Regions from separate parts of the Homo sapiens genome. Here region 2 is linked to region 1. Evidence: promoter capture Hi-C in human tissues and cell types (Jung and others, 2019). All regions are on one chromosome and are shown on one strand. Each heading gives the region's core, a stretch centred on a gene start or on the middle of the fragment in contact. The rest is flanking DNA. Distances are from core to core; before and after follow the strand shown.

The links. The method cuts DNA at HindIII sites, captures the fragments that hold promoters and counts their contacts. A contact is called where the count stands out against the background at its distance.
Region 2: a contact is called between a fragment that was not itself captured here and the fragment with the promoter of VENTX in region 1, in 3 of the 25 tissues and cell types used here (H1 embryonic stem cells, dorsolateral prefrontal cortex and mesendoderm cells).

What each region holds. Positions count from the first base shown.
Region 1 is chr10:133,234,715-133,242,180 of GRCh38, forward strand. VENTX (VENT homeobox) reads left to right here and starts at 3,141. Exons shown (of 3, transcript NM_014468.4): 1 at 3,141-3,441; 2 at 4,962-5,122; 3 at 5,218-7,214. The coding sequence starts at 3,201. The coding sequence ends at 5,592. RefSeq lists enhancers at 302-906, 2,116-2,719, 2,720-3,324, 3,325-3,928. The HindIII fragment of the contact is 13,892 bases long and covers 46-7,466 here.
Region 2 is chr10:132,957,153-132,964,618 of GRCh38, forward strand. All of the region lies in intron 1 of LINC01166 (long intergenic non-protein coding RNA 1166), which reads right to left. LINC01167 (long intergenic non-protein coding RNA 1167) reads right to left here and starts at 5,085. Exons shown (of 2, transcript NR_125763.1): 1 at 4,607-5,085; 2 at 4,188-4,312. RefSeq lists an enhancer at 4,683-5,578. The HindIII fragment of the contact is 3,871 bases long and covers 2,544-6,414 here.

The sequences.
Region 1 (7,466 bases), core at 1,891-4,390:
GTGAGGGGGGCATGGAGGTGTCGGGGAGGGGGGCGTGGAGGTGTTGGGGAGCGGGGATCGTGGGGCGTCGGGGAAGGGGGCACGTGGGATGTCAGGGAGGCCGAGGCCACAGGGGTGGGTGTTGGGGAGGGGTTGGGGAATCTCTACAAACTTTTTTTAAAGTCTGGTTAATTGACGTGTAATTCACATACAGTAAAACTCACCATTTGTAGTGTACGGTTCTACGAATTTGTAAAAATACATATAGTTGTGCAACCAAAACCACAATTGAGTTACGGAACATTTCCATAACAACAAGAAACTTTTTTTGTGTCCCTTTATAGTCACCTGCTCCCTGACTCCCAGCCCTGGCAACCATTGATCTATTTTCTGTTCCTATAGTTTCGCTTTTTCTAGAGGGCCATATGAATGGAATCATACAATGTGCAGCCTTTTCAGCCGAGTCTCACTCTGTCGCCCAGGCTGGAGTGCAGGGGCACGATCTCGGCTCACTGCAACCTCCATCTCCCAGGTTCAAGAGATTCTCCTGCCTCAGCCTCCTGAGTAGCTGGCCTCCCCCTCAGGTGGTCCCAGAGTGCTCGGAGGAGGCTCGGGCGAGTCGCGACGGGGCCGGCAGCACGCGCTGGGCCCGGTGTCTGTCCTCAGGCCCTGGACTCGGGGGGAGCGCGTTTCGGGGACTAGCTGGACTCCGGGCTGTGCGTGGGGGCGGTGCTGTCGGCCTGGGAGTGACGCGGGACTTCCTGCCCAGCGCAACCCGGCCTGGCCCCCGAGGGTGGGGGACAGGGCGACGCCCGCGGGGACCACGCTCTGGGGCGTGCGGGGCGCAATTCACGGGGCTGGGCTGCCCCAGGGGCTGGGAGGAAGGAGGCAGGGGGGCGCCCAAGTCTCCTACCCATGGCAGCGCATCAGGGCGCGTCCCAGAGCCGGGGGTGGACGGAGGCTTGGAGGCGGAGGCTTTGGGGACCCCCAAGCCTGGGCTAGAGCAGCCTCGGCGGGCTCTAGAGGGAGGGTGGAGGGAGGGGCCCGGGCTGCAGGAGGCGGGGAGGCCTGAGCCACGGTGGTGGGGCCGCTGGGCAGGAGAGAGGGGCTGCCTGACCCTGCCGTGTGAAGGTGAGGTTGTCTTCGGGCTTGGGGGGATCGGAGGGGGCGGTTCAGGTGGAGGTGGTGGCGGGGGGCTGGGAAACCGGCAGGAGGGGCTCTATGTAGAGCTGGGGGTGGGGGTGCTGAACCACGTACAGAAGGGGGCTGAGACACCGGGGCCCTGGGCCCCGGAAATTAGAAATGGAGAAATGGAAGGCTGGGTGCTGGCGTTTCGGAAATGCATGCTCGTGGTGTTCCTCTTTATGTAAGGGAAGCTTCTGGGCCTTTTCCCTGCCTGTCGAACGTTCTGTATGTTTTTGCGGGATGTGTGAGGTGTGCTGTCTTGCTCCACTTTGAGGCACCGCCCCCACTGCGGGAGTGCTGGGGACCTGCCCCATGGGGCATCCTCGGGGCCAGCCCTGTGGCCACAGGCATCTGGGCCCTCGCTGCCCCTGGCCGGGACACACTGCCGGTCCTGTGCAGTGGCTCAAAGCCCCTCTACCGGGGGTGACCCGGTCTCTCCGGAGATGAAGTGCAGCGGGGGTCTAGGCCGGCTTCCTGGCCCCCCACCCCTCCTGGCTTTACCCCCGAGGCCACGTCCAAAGCCCCCAGCGCCCCACCCCCGCCAGCCTCCCCCTTGAGGGCCCAGTGACCTAACTGGGCCGGCAGGGTCCGAGGAAGACCAGGGTCAGCGGCGGCACGGTCCGTTCCGCGACCCCTCTCCTGTGACCCCAGGTAGGCCGCCGATCGGTTCCCGGCTGAGGTCCCGCCCCAGCGCCCGCCTCCCGGGCTCCAACCTCTTTGCTCAGCCCGGGAGGCTCGGCTGGCTGGGGCGGGCGTAACCGTGGGGCGAGGCCCGCCGGTCTTTCTGATTTCCGCGGGCGGCGTGGGCGCTGAGGCAGCCGCGGTCAGGACCTGGCCGGGAGTCGGGGCTGCTCCGTGGACCCCGCGTCTGCGCCGAAACCCCGCATGGCTTCGGGGGCCGGACCTGCGCCTCCGCCTAACTCCGGCCGCCGGAGACGCCGTGCGGACCCCAAGCCAGTGCGCGGAAGACACCGTCCTACCCTCGGCATGGCTGCCTCCCACCCGGTCACGTCGGTCCCCGCGCCCCACGCCGACGCGCAGGCGACCCGGGGACGCGGAGACGCAGACAGCTCGGGACTCAGGTTCGTGGGAGCAGCGGCCGCGCGTGGCTATGACCGTCCCGGGGGCCCGTGCTCAGGGCGTCCCCGTGAGGTTTGGGCGCCACAGTCACCGGCGGCTCTGCCCGCGCCCTGGCCACAGTGGGGACAGCCTGGCTTGGCGGGGACGCACCAGTCCCGCCGCCGACGCGGAGTTCCTACCCCGCCGTGCGAGGCAGTGGCTCCGGCCCTTCCAGCTCGGGATGGAGTCAGGGAGCCGCCCGCGCCCGAATGCAGAGGCTCCTGCGATGGCCCCGGAGTGAGTCCCCCAGAGGAGCCGGATTAGGGCTGGAGGCGGCCGAGTCCCCCGAGAGGCCCCTCCCGACATTCCCGCCCCCGCGCGCCGCTCCCCGGGTCCTCCGCGTCTCTTTCCCGGGAAAGCCTCCCTCGGTTCCTGCGCGGCCGCACAGCCTGGACGCAGCGCACGCGGGCACCGGCCTGACTCTCCCACCCCGAAGCCTGCTCCCAACCTAAGTCCGCCCTGACTCTCCCAGCCTGAAGCCTGCTCGCCCTCGGGTGTCCGGGCTGGGCACAGGCGCCAGCGTCCCCCTGGAGAGGAGAGGTCGCCCGGCACCTCCCAGGACAGGCCCAAGTGGGAGTGGGACCCTCCTACCTTCCTGCAGCCTCGGCCCGCGGGGTGGGGGGTTGGGAGAGATGAAAGGAGGTGACCGATCCCGAACCATCGCCTCTCCATTAACCAGGGCCCGCAGCCCCGCCCCTCCCCCAGACATCGAGGAGCCGGGGAGGTGTGAACGGCCTCCTTTGTGCCTCTGAATCGAAGGCAATTAGGCGCTGCTTATCTGGGCATTAGCCGTGTATGCAAACCGGGCTCCCGCCCCCTCCTCCTGGGCTTATAAACGCCGCCGCCTGGCGAGGCCCGAGGTGGATCCTGCGCCTGGCCAGCCCCGCCTGGCCTTCCCTCCGGCCCACCTGGCCGCCATGCGCCTCTCCTCCTCCCCACCTCGTGGCCCGCAGCAGCTCTCCAGCTTTGGCTCCGTGGACTGGCTCTCCCAGAGCAGCTGCTCAGGGCCGACCCACACCCCCAGGCCTGCCGACTTCTCCCTGGGGAGCCTCCCTGGCCCAGGCCAGACATCCGGCGCCCGGGAGCCCCCTCAGGCCGTCAGCATCAAGGAGGCCGCCGGGTCCTCAAATCTGCCTGCGCCGGAGAGGACCATGGCCGGTAGGTCCGGGTGGGGGGGGTCCCTTCCTTCCCAGGTGGAGATGGGAGTGGGGGAGAGGCCAGGAGCCCGGCGGCTGCACTCCCCGCGGTGCCCTGCCCACTAGGTCAGGGCCGGGGGCGTTTCCATGAGGGCCGGCGGAGGCCTTGCCGGCGCCCTCACTGGAGCGCAGCTTCCCTCGGAACCAAAGCCTTGACGGGGATTTCCTCTCCTTGAGCCCCCGGTGGGCTCCTCTGCCTCCTTTTGTCACCCCGTTCCTCAGCTGTGTCTTCGTCCCCCACCCCGGCCTGGTGCCGAGGGACCGTCCAAGGGGTCCCCGTCCGCACCTCCCTGCCCTGATTCCGGGCGCTCACTGAAAGTCTCGATGATTTGCCAAGCCCCCCGCCCCCGCCCCCCAGCACAGCCGGTGCCTGCTCAGCGTCTAGGCTCAAGCCCATTCCGGGTCACCTGGAGCACAGCTGTCTTTAAAGAGCCTGCAGGTTCGCTGCAGGGGTGGCGGTGACCCCGATGCCTGCAGAAACTCTGAAGTTCCCTCTGTGGCCGCCCAGATGCTCTGTTGTCTGCTGAGAACAAAGGTTCTCTGCGTTTGTGTTTTAGTCTTTGTGACATCATCACCACTTTTAGGTTTAAGGTAGTACTTGGTCAAAAGTGGGGTTGACATCATCTACAAGTTTTCATTTTTAAAAATTTGACTGATCCTTATGGAGTGACTTTGTACTTAAGGGAAATGAAAATTTAAATGTATTCTCCCCAGCTAGCTATCCTGCCCCACCCCAAAAAAGCCAGCCATCCCTGTCCCGCAACCCCCTTTCTGATGCCAGTCCTACAGCCCTCCCTGCCAGAAGGCATTTGCTTTTTGGGTCTACCATGTGCTTTCAGGCTAACGTTAAGACAGATTTTGTAAAATACGCTTCCTTCCGCAGAAACTCCAGCGAGCATTTTGGTCAGACTTGCATTTAATGTCGAGCTCGATTGGCCACGTTGGCCTTTCCTGGGACCCAGACCCAGCTCCACAGACCACCTCGTGGGGCCGTTTGGTGCCAGCCCCCATTCCTTAACTTAGAAATTAGGAAACAGACTTGACCACAGTGGGCCTGGGGATTAACTGAGTTGGCCTCCGCTGGCTGAGGAGACGGAGCCCGGGACAGGGATGGGTGCCCCTGGGTGGGTCGCCAGGCCTTTGCATATAATGGATTCTTACCTTACCGGCCTGGAAGGCTGTGGGAAGGGCATCCTGGGAACCGGCTTCTGGAAGGGAAGTGTGGGATGGGGCGGAACTGAGTGGACTGAGCGGAGGGCAGGCCCAAGCTGCTGTTAACATTCCCTCCCCTCTTGAGCCCCCTCTCTGAGCCCCCTTTCCGCATGTGACCTGGGAGGCGGCGGGGGTGCTGCTGGTCACTGTCAGGTGAGAAGATCTGCCCTGCCCAGCCCCCAGCATGGCTGTCTTCACCTGTTACCCGTGGGCACGAGCTTGCCCCATGGGGTGGCATGTTGAGCCAAATGCCCTTACCCTCTATGTCAGGGTTGAGTAAGGAGCCAAATACCTTGCGGGCCCCCCGTGTCCGCACAGCCTTCACCATGGAGCAGGTCCGCACCTTGGAGGGCGTCTTCCAGCACCACCAGTACCTGAGCCCTCTGGAGCGGAAGAGGCTGGCCAGGGAGATGCAGCTCTCAGAGGTCCAGGTGAGGTGGGCCGGGCAGGCTGGGGTGGGCAGGGGTGGGCAAGGGTGGGCTGGTGGCCTAGTCTCACCCCTGTTCTGATCTTGCTTTTCCTACAGATAAAAACCTGGTTTCAGAATCGCCGCATGAAACACAAACGGCAAATGCAGGACCCCCAGCTGCACAGCCCCTTCTCGGGGTCTCTCCATGCGCCCCCAGCTTTCTACTCAACGTCTTCTGGCCTTGCCAATGGCCTGCAGCTGCTGTGCCCTTGGGCACCCCTGTCCGGGCCCCAGGCTCTGATGCTGCCCCCTGGCTCCTTCTGGGGTCTCTGCCAAGTGGCACAAGAGGCCCTGGCATCTGCGGGAGCTTCCTGCTGCGGGCAGCCTCTGGCGTCCCACCCCCCTACCCCAGGCCGGCCTTCGCTGGGACCAGCCCTGTCCACGGGGCCCCGGGGCCTGTGTGCTATGCCACAGACGGGGGATGCATTTTGAGGAGGCACCTCTGACTCCCACACTCGCGGTCTTGCTGATCGCACCTGGCTCCTACCTGGAGGACTCAGTTGTTCTGTTTACATCCTGGTGGCACCTCTCACCCTGACCCACACAAAGGTTCTGGAGATTACTGGAGAATATATATAAATATATATATGTACGTATATATGTAAATACACATATACGTATATATAAATATATATATACATATGTGTGTGTATATATATATATATTTTTTTTTTTTTTTTTTTTTTTGAGACGGAGTGTTGCTCTGTCACCCAGGCTGGAGTGCAATGACGCAATCTCGGCTCACTGCAACCTCCGCCTCCTGGGTTCAAGCGATTCTCCAGCCTCAGCCTCCCGAGTAGCTGGGATTACAGACACCCGCCACCACGCCCGGCTAATTTTTTCTATTTTTAGTAGAAATGGGGTTTCACCATGTTAGCCAGGCTGGTCTCAAACTCCTGACCCTGTGATCCGCCCGCCTCGGCCTCCCAAAGTGCTGGGATTACAGGCATGAGCCACTGCACCCGGCCCTGAGAATATATTTATTAAAGCCACCTCTTCACTGAAAGTTACCGAAAGAGTCGGTTTAGGAAGGAAACGAAGGGTCAGTGAACAGAGTCAAATGCAGAAGTGGGCTTGTCATGGGTAGGGCTTTCGGCGTACGATAAAAGGATCATTTGTTTTTTAAAAGGGGTTGGAAAAACTGGTTTTCCAGTTGGAAACAGTAAAGGTTGTAAGCTTTGTGTGTACAAAAGAAAACAGGGAATGCAGGTGTGTTTATAGCGTTGTGGTTCAAGTCCCTCTTAACAAGAACTCCAAAGCTGGAAAGCAGGAGGGAACAAAGGTGAACATGAAGGCGAGGATGCTGGGGCCCTGCAGTGCGCTCTAGGCTGTGCGTGAGCCGGGACTGTACCCACAGCTTGCTGAGGGCTGCTCTTCTTGGGCCAGGGAAAGCAGGGCAGCCGGGACCTGCGGCTGTGCCTGGACTGAAGCTGTCCCGCAGGTCCCCACCCTCCAACACGTGCTCACCTGTCCCCCTGCTCGCAGCAGCCTCGGGACAAAACAATGACTCAAGGACAGCACTTCTTGCAGAAGGTCTGGAAGTGCCCAGAATGGGAGGCACGGAAGCCCCTCCCGGGGAGGACTCCCGCGTTGATGGACCGTTCTTGGTGCAGACTCCTGACTGCGTGCATGAAACCTGAGACAAGTGCAATTCCTTCCATGTCGCCCCAGAGTGCCCAGGAGGCAGGCAGTGCGGGGTGCCCAGGCAGACGGGTTCAGCCTGCAGAACTGGAGGCGACCTGTGAAACCCACCCGGGCACCCCAACAGGAACAGAAGCGTGGTCCTGCGGCTGCGTCCCCAGCGAGTTTCACTTTCCCCTTGCTCGTTTCTCCCTTGTTGTAAGTGTTTACAACTGGCATGTGCTTTTAAACGTCAGGTAAGAGGGGAACAGCTGCTGTACATCGTCCTGGCGAGTGACAATGTGACAGAAGCCTGGGCGAGGCCCTCGGAGGGCAGCAGCTGGACAGGGACTACTGGGTTTGGCCTGGACAGCACTGATTTGTGGATGTGGATGGGGGCACGTTGTCCGTGATAAAAGTACAAGTGCCCCTCACCGCCCGTGGAGATTGCTTTCTGGTCCCCTGTGTGGCCCCAGGCCACAAACCACACCGTCTTGGTCCTGAACTCTCCCGGTGAGTAAGGGCCCTGGCCTGGTGGTGTCTCGAGGTCCTGCCAGCACACTGGGCCCTACAAGGTGGGCAGCCCCTTGGGGCTGAGCTGTGCCTGTTCGGAGGCACACCTGGGCCTCCTTAGGGCCCTGGCTCCATCCTGCAGATGAGGAGCTCTGGAAAAGGGCAAAGTCCCG
Region 2 (7,466 bases), core at 3,229-5,728, 280 kb before region 1:
TTTAGATCAGGCCTCAGCCTCGGGCCCTGTCCTCAGCTGCCCTCCTTGGGGCGAGCCACTCCTGCTTTGCCTGCCTGGCCCTGATGGCAGTTCCTGTCCGTCATGCCAGGCTGCGCTGGCAGTGGCCGGTGTATCAGTCTGGGTGATCAGAGGTCTTGCTGGGAAGTGCTATGTGGCTGAGCGCTCTAATCTCAGCCCCTGCACCTCAGTGCAGCTGAGCACAGAGCTCCTGGGGCTGGCCAGATCCCTGTCAGTCCCTCAGGGTGGGCCCGCACCTGGAGCACTAACAGCTGTCTCCCAGCCCTGCTGAGAGCCATGTGGAATCGGCCTGTGGTTAAGCGACATCCACTACAGTGAAAATATAAAAAGGAGCCAGGCCACCCTGTGTTCACCAACAGGCCTGTGAAAGCCCCTCTGCCACATCCTACATCAAATATCCCATCTCTGAAGGCACTGGGTCTCATCCCATCTCTGAAGGCGCTGGGTCTCACCTGAGGACCGAGGGAGGATCCCCTCTCTGAAGGCGCTGTGGCCTCATCTGAGGACCGAGGGAGGATCCCGTCTCTGAAGGCGCTGGGTCTCATGTGAGGACCAAGGGAGGATCCCATCTCTGAAGGCACTGGGTCTCATGTGAGGACCGAGGGAGGACCCCGTCTCTGAAGACACTGGGTCTCATATGAGGACTGAGGGAGGATCCCATCTCTGAAGGTGCTGGGTCTCATCTGAAGACCGAGGGAGGATTTCGTCTCTGAAGGCGCTGCGGCCTCATCTGAGGACTGAGGGAGGACACCCTAGGGCCCTCGCCCCTCCTTCCCCCACCACTCTGAAGTGGGGGTCCCTCTCTGCCGTGCCAGGAGGCCAGCCCTCCTCAAGCTTCCACAAACAGGGCAGAGCTCCGCATGCAGTGTGCTGGGGGCAGGTGGACTCCTGCGTCCCAAGCTCAGGCCCCCGGGGGTCACTGCGGGCTGGTGGCAGGTCCAGTGGGCTCAGCTCCCATTTGGTCCCTTCCTTCCTGGATGAACGCAGACCCCTTACCTGACCACCGAGGCTGGATCTCTCCGTCCACAAATCAGAGACCCCACCCACATCGAGGGTCCTGCCTGTGTCTGGGGGCTGCAGCAGGGAGTCCCGCACCCATCGGGACAGCTACAAAGCTGGGGAGGGATCTGCTGGGGATGCCCACAGGACCTGGGGTGTGGGGCAGGCAGGACGCGACACCTGGCAGGACTTTAGGACATGTTGGTGCCCAGACCTGTGGGTTGACAGCGAGGCCCGGAGCACGGAGGCCGCCTGTGTGGCTCACATCAGAGCTTTAAACATTCAGTTTGACAGGGTGTCGGGGCGACTGCCCTTCCTTGTGCTCAGGAAGAGTCGGGCAGGCCTGCTCCTGCAGGGCGCCGGTGGTGCTATTTTAGGCGTCCTGCTCTGAAGGGCCTCTCTGCGCCCCGTGTGCTCACAGTCTAGGTATTGAACAGGCAGGCCCTATCCTCCTCTGAGCACCAGGACAGAGCGGGCGGCTGTTTAAATGCAAGATCAGTCAGCTGTGGCAGGATGCAGTGATTTGAGAGAAAATGTCACAACTCTACCAGCGAAGTTGGAAACTAAATCGGGACGTCACAGTGACCTCCCTGGCTTGCACACAGCCAGGTGACAGGCTGTGCGGAGCCGTGGGGCCCTCCCCCTGGGATACCTGCTGACACCAGGCTGGGCAGGGCCCTTCGGAAGGCGAGTGGGAGGACCCAGGAGCTCCTGCTCCTGAGCCCAGGGTCACCTTTAGGGAGCACTTTGGGGGGTCAGTTGTGCACCTTCCGGAAGGAGGCAGCGAGACTGGGGAGCAGCAGGAGGAAGCCGTGGCCAAGGTCCCTGCAGAGCCAGCTGCTCTGAGCCTTGCCCAGGGCATGGCTGAAACGCAGCCCCAGGCTCCATGCCAGTTCTCCAGGCACTGGCCCAAGGTCTCCTCCTCTTGAAGAGCTGCTCAGGTTAATTTCCCACGGCAGCGGGATTCCAGCGTCCTCCCTCCCTCAGTCCTTGTGGCGCCATCCCCTGCCTGGCCCTGGACCCCCATCCTCTGACGGGTTCCTCTTCCCCTCGTGCCTTTACTTACTTGACAGATGTTCACACCCCCACACGCTGAGCTCAGCATCTCCTGGTCACGGGTCCCTGGAGCCTGTGGGCCAGCACAGGGGGCCCGCCTGCATGTAGGACCTTCTCTGAACAGTCACCAGCTCCGGGCATGGCGAGGGCCCAGGGGTCTGTCTGACCTGAATCTCCCAGGTGGGAGCTGGTCTTTGAGGCACACGGCAGCCTCTGCACCACGTTTCGGGGGTCAGGAGGTGCAGAATAGCTCTGCAGGGGGAGGCAGGGGGTGACGCGGCCGCTCCTGGAGCACCGGCCTCGCCAACTCTGGTGGAGACCCCCAGGCTGTCGAGGGCCACAGCGATGCCCTCCTCTCCCTTTGCTCCTCCCCACCCAATCCCCCCTGCAGGGCAGCCTGGCCTCCTGCACAGACCGACAGGTGGGCGCTGGAGGCAACATGCCTGGACCAGGACTCCTGGGCCTCACCTGCCCAGTGTGCCTGCAGTACCATCTCCGCTCACCACCTGGCTGGGTGCATCTCTCCTGGGGGCCACCACACTCCAGGGATGCCGGTCTCCCTTCTCAGCTGGTATTTCAATCAGGGTCTGGAAAGGGGTGGCCTCCACTCCTCCTGTCCCAGGGGAGACTTGGGCTGGCCAGGTGAGGGTGGGATTCTGACCAAGGCGACCTCTCCTTCCCAGAGGGACAGAGGCTGTCCTGGGTGGGTAACCGCCCTTTGGTCTAGACCCTCCTGATCCCTCAGACCAGGAGAGACGGGGCATTTCTGATGTCGCTGCTTGAAAGGCAACCCAAACTGGAGCCTCTCCTCTGACGCGTCCTGCTGTCTGAATAAGCCGAGGAGGCGCCGCCACCTTGGTGTCAGTGCACGCTGAGGCCAAGGGCTCTCCTCCCGGACACTCATCGCCGGCCCCTGAGAGGAAGGGTGGACCCACCCCAGGCACAGACATGCCGGCACCTTCTGGGCTTCCTTGCCCCAGGGTTGACCTTTTGTCCTTATCCTGCCTGGGCTCCTCCTGGCGGCTCACACAAGGGTGGGTGTGATGTCACCTGGGCCGACCTGCCCCCGACTCAGCACCGAGGCTCCTGTGTGCCTCAAACCCGGCTCCCGCCAGGAATTCGAGTCAGACAGGTCCCTGGGCCCTCGCCATGCCCCAAACTGGCAGCCATACAGAGGACGCCCCGCATGCAGGTGGGGACCCACAATCAGGCCCCCGGGGCAGGTGGGCACCTGGGTGGAGGCCACGGCTTTCTCACCTGGACGGGGACTAAGGAGGCTCCTCTGCCCGTCCCCTGTCCAGGCCTCGCTGAGGCTCCTAGGCCATCACCTTCTTTCTCCTGACATCCCCACCCCTCCGGTGCCCCCCAGGCCCCCCCCAGTCAACTCCCACTTGGGCTCTTGTCTCAGGCCCGAGGCCAGGGCCAGCCTTGGCAAAGGCAAGATCTCTTCTGAGAACAGGTGCCGGCCTGGAGCCAACGGGTGGCCTTGGCGTCCGGTGGCCTCGGCCCCAGCGTCCAGATTGGACCCAAGGGGACGATCGCCCCACCACTGACGAGGGTGCCACGAATGGGGTTGTGGACAGGGGGTGTGAGGGGCTCGGGGGAGGTGGTGCTGGTGCGTGGCTGCTGCAGCCTGGGGACACAGCCGTCCTCACGCTCGGCCAAGGGTCACTGGTGACAGACGGCGAGGCCTCGTCCCCAGATGCCGCCTCCCACGTGGTTCAGCCAGAACGCGCTCCCACCTCAGCCCTCCCTGGTCACCGTGGGTGTCAGAGCCACCAGGGTGGTGCCATCCCGAGGGGCATTCCCTCGACAGGTGACAGCTCTTCCCAAACACTGCTGCCCCAGAGTGTGACAGAGGCCCCTGGTCCGGAGCCACACCACAGAGGGACACCCCCACGGCCCCTCGCACTGAGAGCGCGCGGCTCAGGCAGGAGCCAGCCTCAGGCTGCAGGCCCTGTGGGCGGACGGCGGAGGGAGGCAGGGCTGGGAGACGTTTTTTGTATCTATGAGTTAACAACAAACCCAGCCGGAACCCCAGGCTCAGATCTGCTCAGAAGACGGAGGGGAAGCAGCAAATGCTGGCGTCTGACTTGGATCCAGGACTTTTATTTTTAAGCTTTAAAAATGTGAAGAAGAGGATGTCACCAGCTAACGACGTCAGCAAACGTCTTGGAAAATTTGGAAACGTGTTGACCGGGTTGGCTGTAATTTATTTCTAGAAGTGTAAGCAAGAATTTGGGGCTGAGGGCTAAGAAAGGCAAAACCAGAAACATCAAGATCGGCTCAATGTGACCCCTGCCGCATGCCTGCTCCCAGGACCCCTCACCCCCAACCCCTGCCACACACCTGCTCCCGGGGGCTCCCCACCCCTCACCCCCACCTCATGCCTGCTCCCCGGCACTTCTCACCTGCTCACCCCTACCACATGCTGGCTCCCCTGACCCCCCACCCCTCACCCCTGCTGCACACCTGCTCCCCTGATCCCCCACCCCTCACCCCTGCTGCACACCTGCTCCGGCGATCCCCCACCCCTCACCCCCGCTGCACTTGCAGCCCAGCCTTGGAGTGCAGGCCTTTCTCCTTCACTCTTCCGCCTTAGGACGCTGGCCGTGTATGAGTGTCAGTGCACGGATGAGCGAGTGTGAGTGTGAGCCTGACAGGCATGTGTGAGCATGAGTTCAGTGTGTGTGTGAGCAAGTGTGTGTGTGCCTGCGTGAGTGTGCACAACAGTCGGCCTCTCCACGTGCATGTGCCAGGCCGGCAGGTCCAGCCCCCTCTGCTTCCTCCGCGTGAGGAGGGCTCACAGTCCCTGCAGGGCCTGCACAGCCCGGGAGACCAGCGATAGGGCAGGGGCTCCGGGAGCTGCCAGCTTGGCTGGGAGGACAGAATCACGTTGCTGATGGACGTCTTCTGAGAGAGGACTGGGACGCCATCATTCGAGTGAGGTTTGAGGTGGGAGTCGACTCCAGAGGCAGTACTTGGACTCCGGACCGGATTGACTAGTTAAAGCAGGGCTCGCGGAAGCAGCTTTCCCTAAGCCTCGCCCACCCGAGTGCCTGTCAGTTTTCCGTTGCCATAGCAACACCCGGGTGTTACCGCCCCCTTCTATGGCAATGACTCAATGACCCAAAAGTTACTACCCCTTCCCTAGAAATTTCTGCATAAATCGCCCCTTAATCTGCATGCGATTAAAAGCGGTATAAGTGTGACTGCAAAACTGCCCCAAGCGGCTGCTCTCTGCCTACGGGGCGGCCCCGCTGCAGGAGCAGTCAGGGAGCTGTGAGCTGTGGCACGGCCGCCTGAATAAAGCTCTTTCCTTCTACCTGCGGCTTGCCCTTGAATTCCCTCCAGGGTAAAGCCAAGAACCGTCGGGGCTCAGCCCCACCTGGGGGCTCCCCTGCCCCGCACCACCGAAGTCTTGGATGGGTAACTGGAAGATGCCATTGTGAATAGAAATATCCTTTCTCGATGAATTAGAAAATGAAACCAACTCCTGCATTAATTTTACACAAATGACATCAAGAGGGTTGAGAGAAGAAGGTGGCTGTCCCCAGCTCCGGGTCCCTGCCAGCCTTATGATAGTCTTCTAAGGCCATCTATTATTTCCTGAAATATTCATAGAAGTATGAAAAATTGAGCATGAGTGGTTTGCTTTGTGCTTCGTTATTTATTAAGCTTGTGACTTATTTTTCTTTTGGCGAAGAGCTTCCTATCTTTTCCAAGAAAAAAAAAGTGGGCCAGAATAACAGCCCTCATGTTTTGAGCTTGAAATTAAAATTTCGAAGACCTCCCTGTACAAAGTGAAGCTGAGTAAAGATGTTTACAAATGCAGATTGAAAATGAAAAATGCAAGGGCCTTTGTGACTCATTTTATGAATATGTGTTTTTATCAAAGAACTCCCATAAGTTGACTCGGAGCCTGATTTGCATCTAGGGTTTCATCCTTGCTTGGTGGTGGACTGGCCGTCCCTTCATCCCTTCTATAAGTCCATTAACATCCCTCCCTCCATCTGTCCGTCAACATCCCTCCCTCCATCCATCTGTCTATCAACATTCCTCCCTCCCTCCATCTGTCCATCAAAATCCCTCCCTTCATCCATCTGTCTATCAACATTCCTCCCTCCCTCCATCTGTCCATCAACATCCCTCCCTCCATCCATCCGTCCATCAACATCCCTTCCTCCATCCATCCGTCCATCAACATCCCTCCATCCATCCGTCCATCAACATCCCTCCCTCCATCCATCCGTCCATCAACATCCCTCCCTCCATCCATCCGTCCATCAACATCCCTCTCTCCATCCATCCATCCATCAACATTCCTGGCACCTGCTCAGCATCGGGGGGGCATCCCAGCCCTCACAGGGAGCAGGCACAGTAGGTACAGGTAGAGGCTCCCTGCCTGCTCAGCCCCAGGCCGCTCCTGAGAGCACCCCCAAAGCCACAGGTCACAGCACATTGCCCCTGATTTTACCCCATTAGGAGAGGGAAGATGTGCCCAAGGGGACTGGTGAGCCACAGGGAGGCGGATTCCTGGGCTGCAGCTTAAAACAAGACACTTGTTCCCTCATGGTTCCGGAAGCCAGAGTCCAAGATTGAGGTGTAGGCCTGCGCTCCCTCAGAGCTGCTCGCTCCAGGGAGATCCCTCCTCGGCGCTTCTGCTTCTGGTGACTCCGGGTGTCCTCAGCATCGCCCAGCCCCACCTCCATCTTTGCAAGCCTCTCCTTTCTCCCATAAGGATGCCAGGCACCGGATTTCAGGCCCATACTAAATCCAAGATGATCTCATCATGATATCCTTAACTTTTTACATCTGCGAAGACCCTGTTTCCAAACTGGTCACGTTTGTAGGAACCAGGGCTTAGGACTCGAACATATCTTTTGGGGAGACAAGATTCATCCCCCATGAGCATGGGTTCAGAGAGCAACGGCTTTAGCACTACCGAGGTCTTAATCCAAGCTTCCTGTCAGGATTTAATACAAGGGAGGCTGAACTGCCGGGGAGCTCAGAAATGCACGAGCAAGACATGAGCGTAGGGGAGGTTCCCGGGGTGCCTCGACTGTCCAGGCTTGCAGCTGCAGGTGGAGAGGAGGCAAGGCTGTTTGCCCATTTCAGCCTCAGAACAGTCACAGCCCAGCAGCCGGCGGCCTGTCCATGATGACCATTCTGCTCCGGAGCCTACACAGAGGGCACTGTTCACCCTGCGGCCGCCTCCCTGCGCTCCAAGGATCAGCCTCATGATAAGGTCAGAAAGAACCTTGGCTTTAGGGTCTGTCCCGCGTGGCCACCTGTTCTGTATGTTAAAACCGACTTGCCTGCCATTTCTCTTCTTATCCCTCACACCCACCCACCCAGCCTGGGCCAGGCCT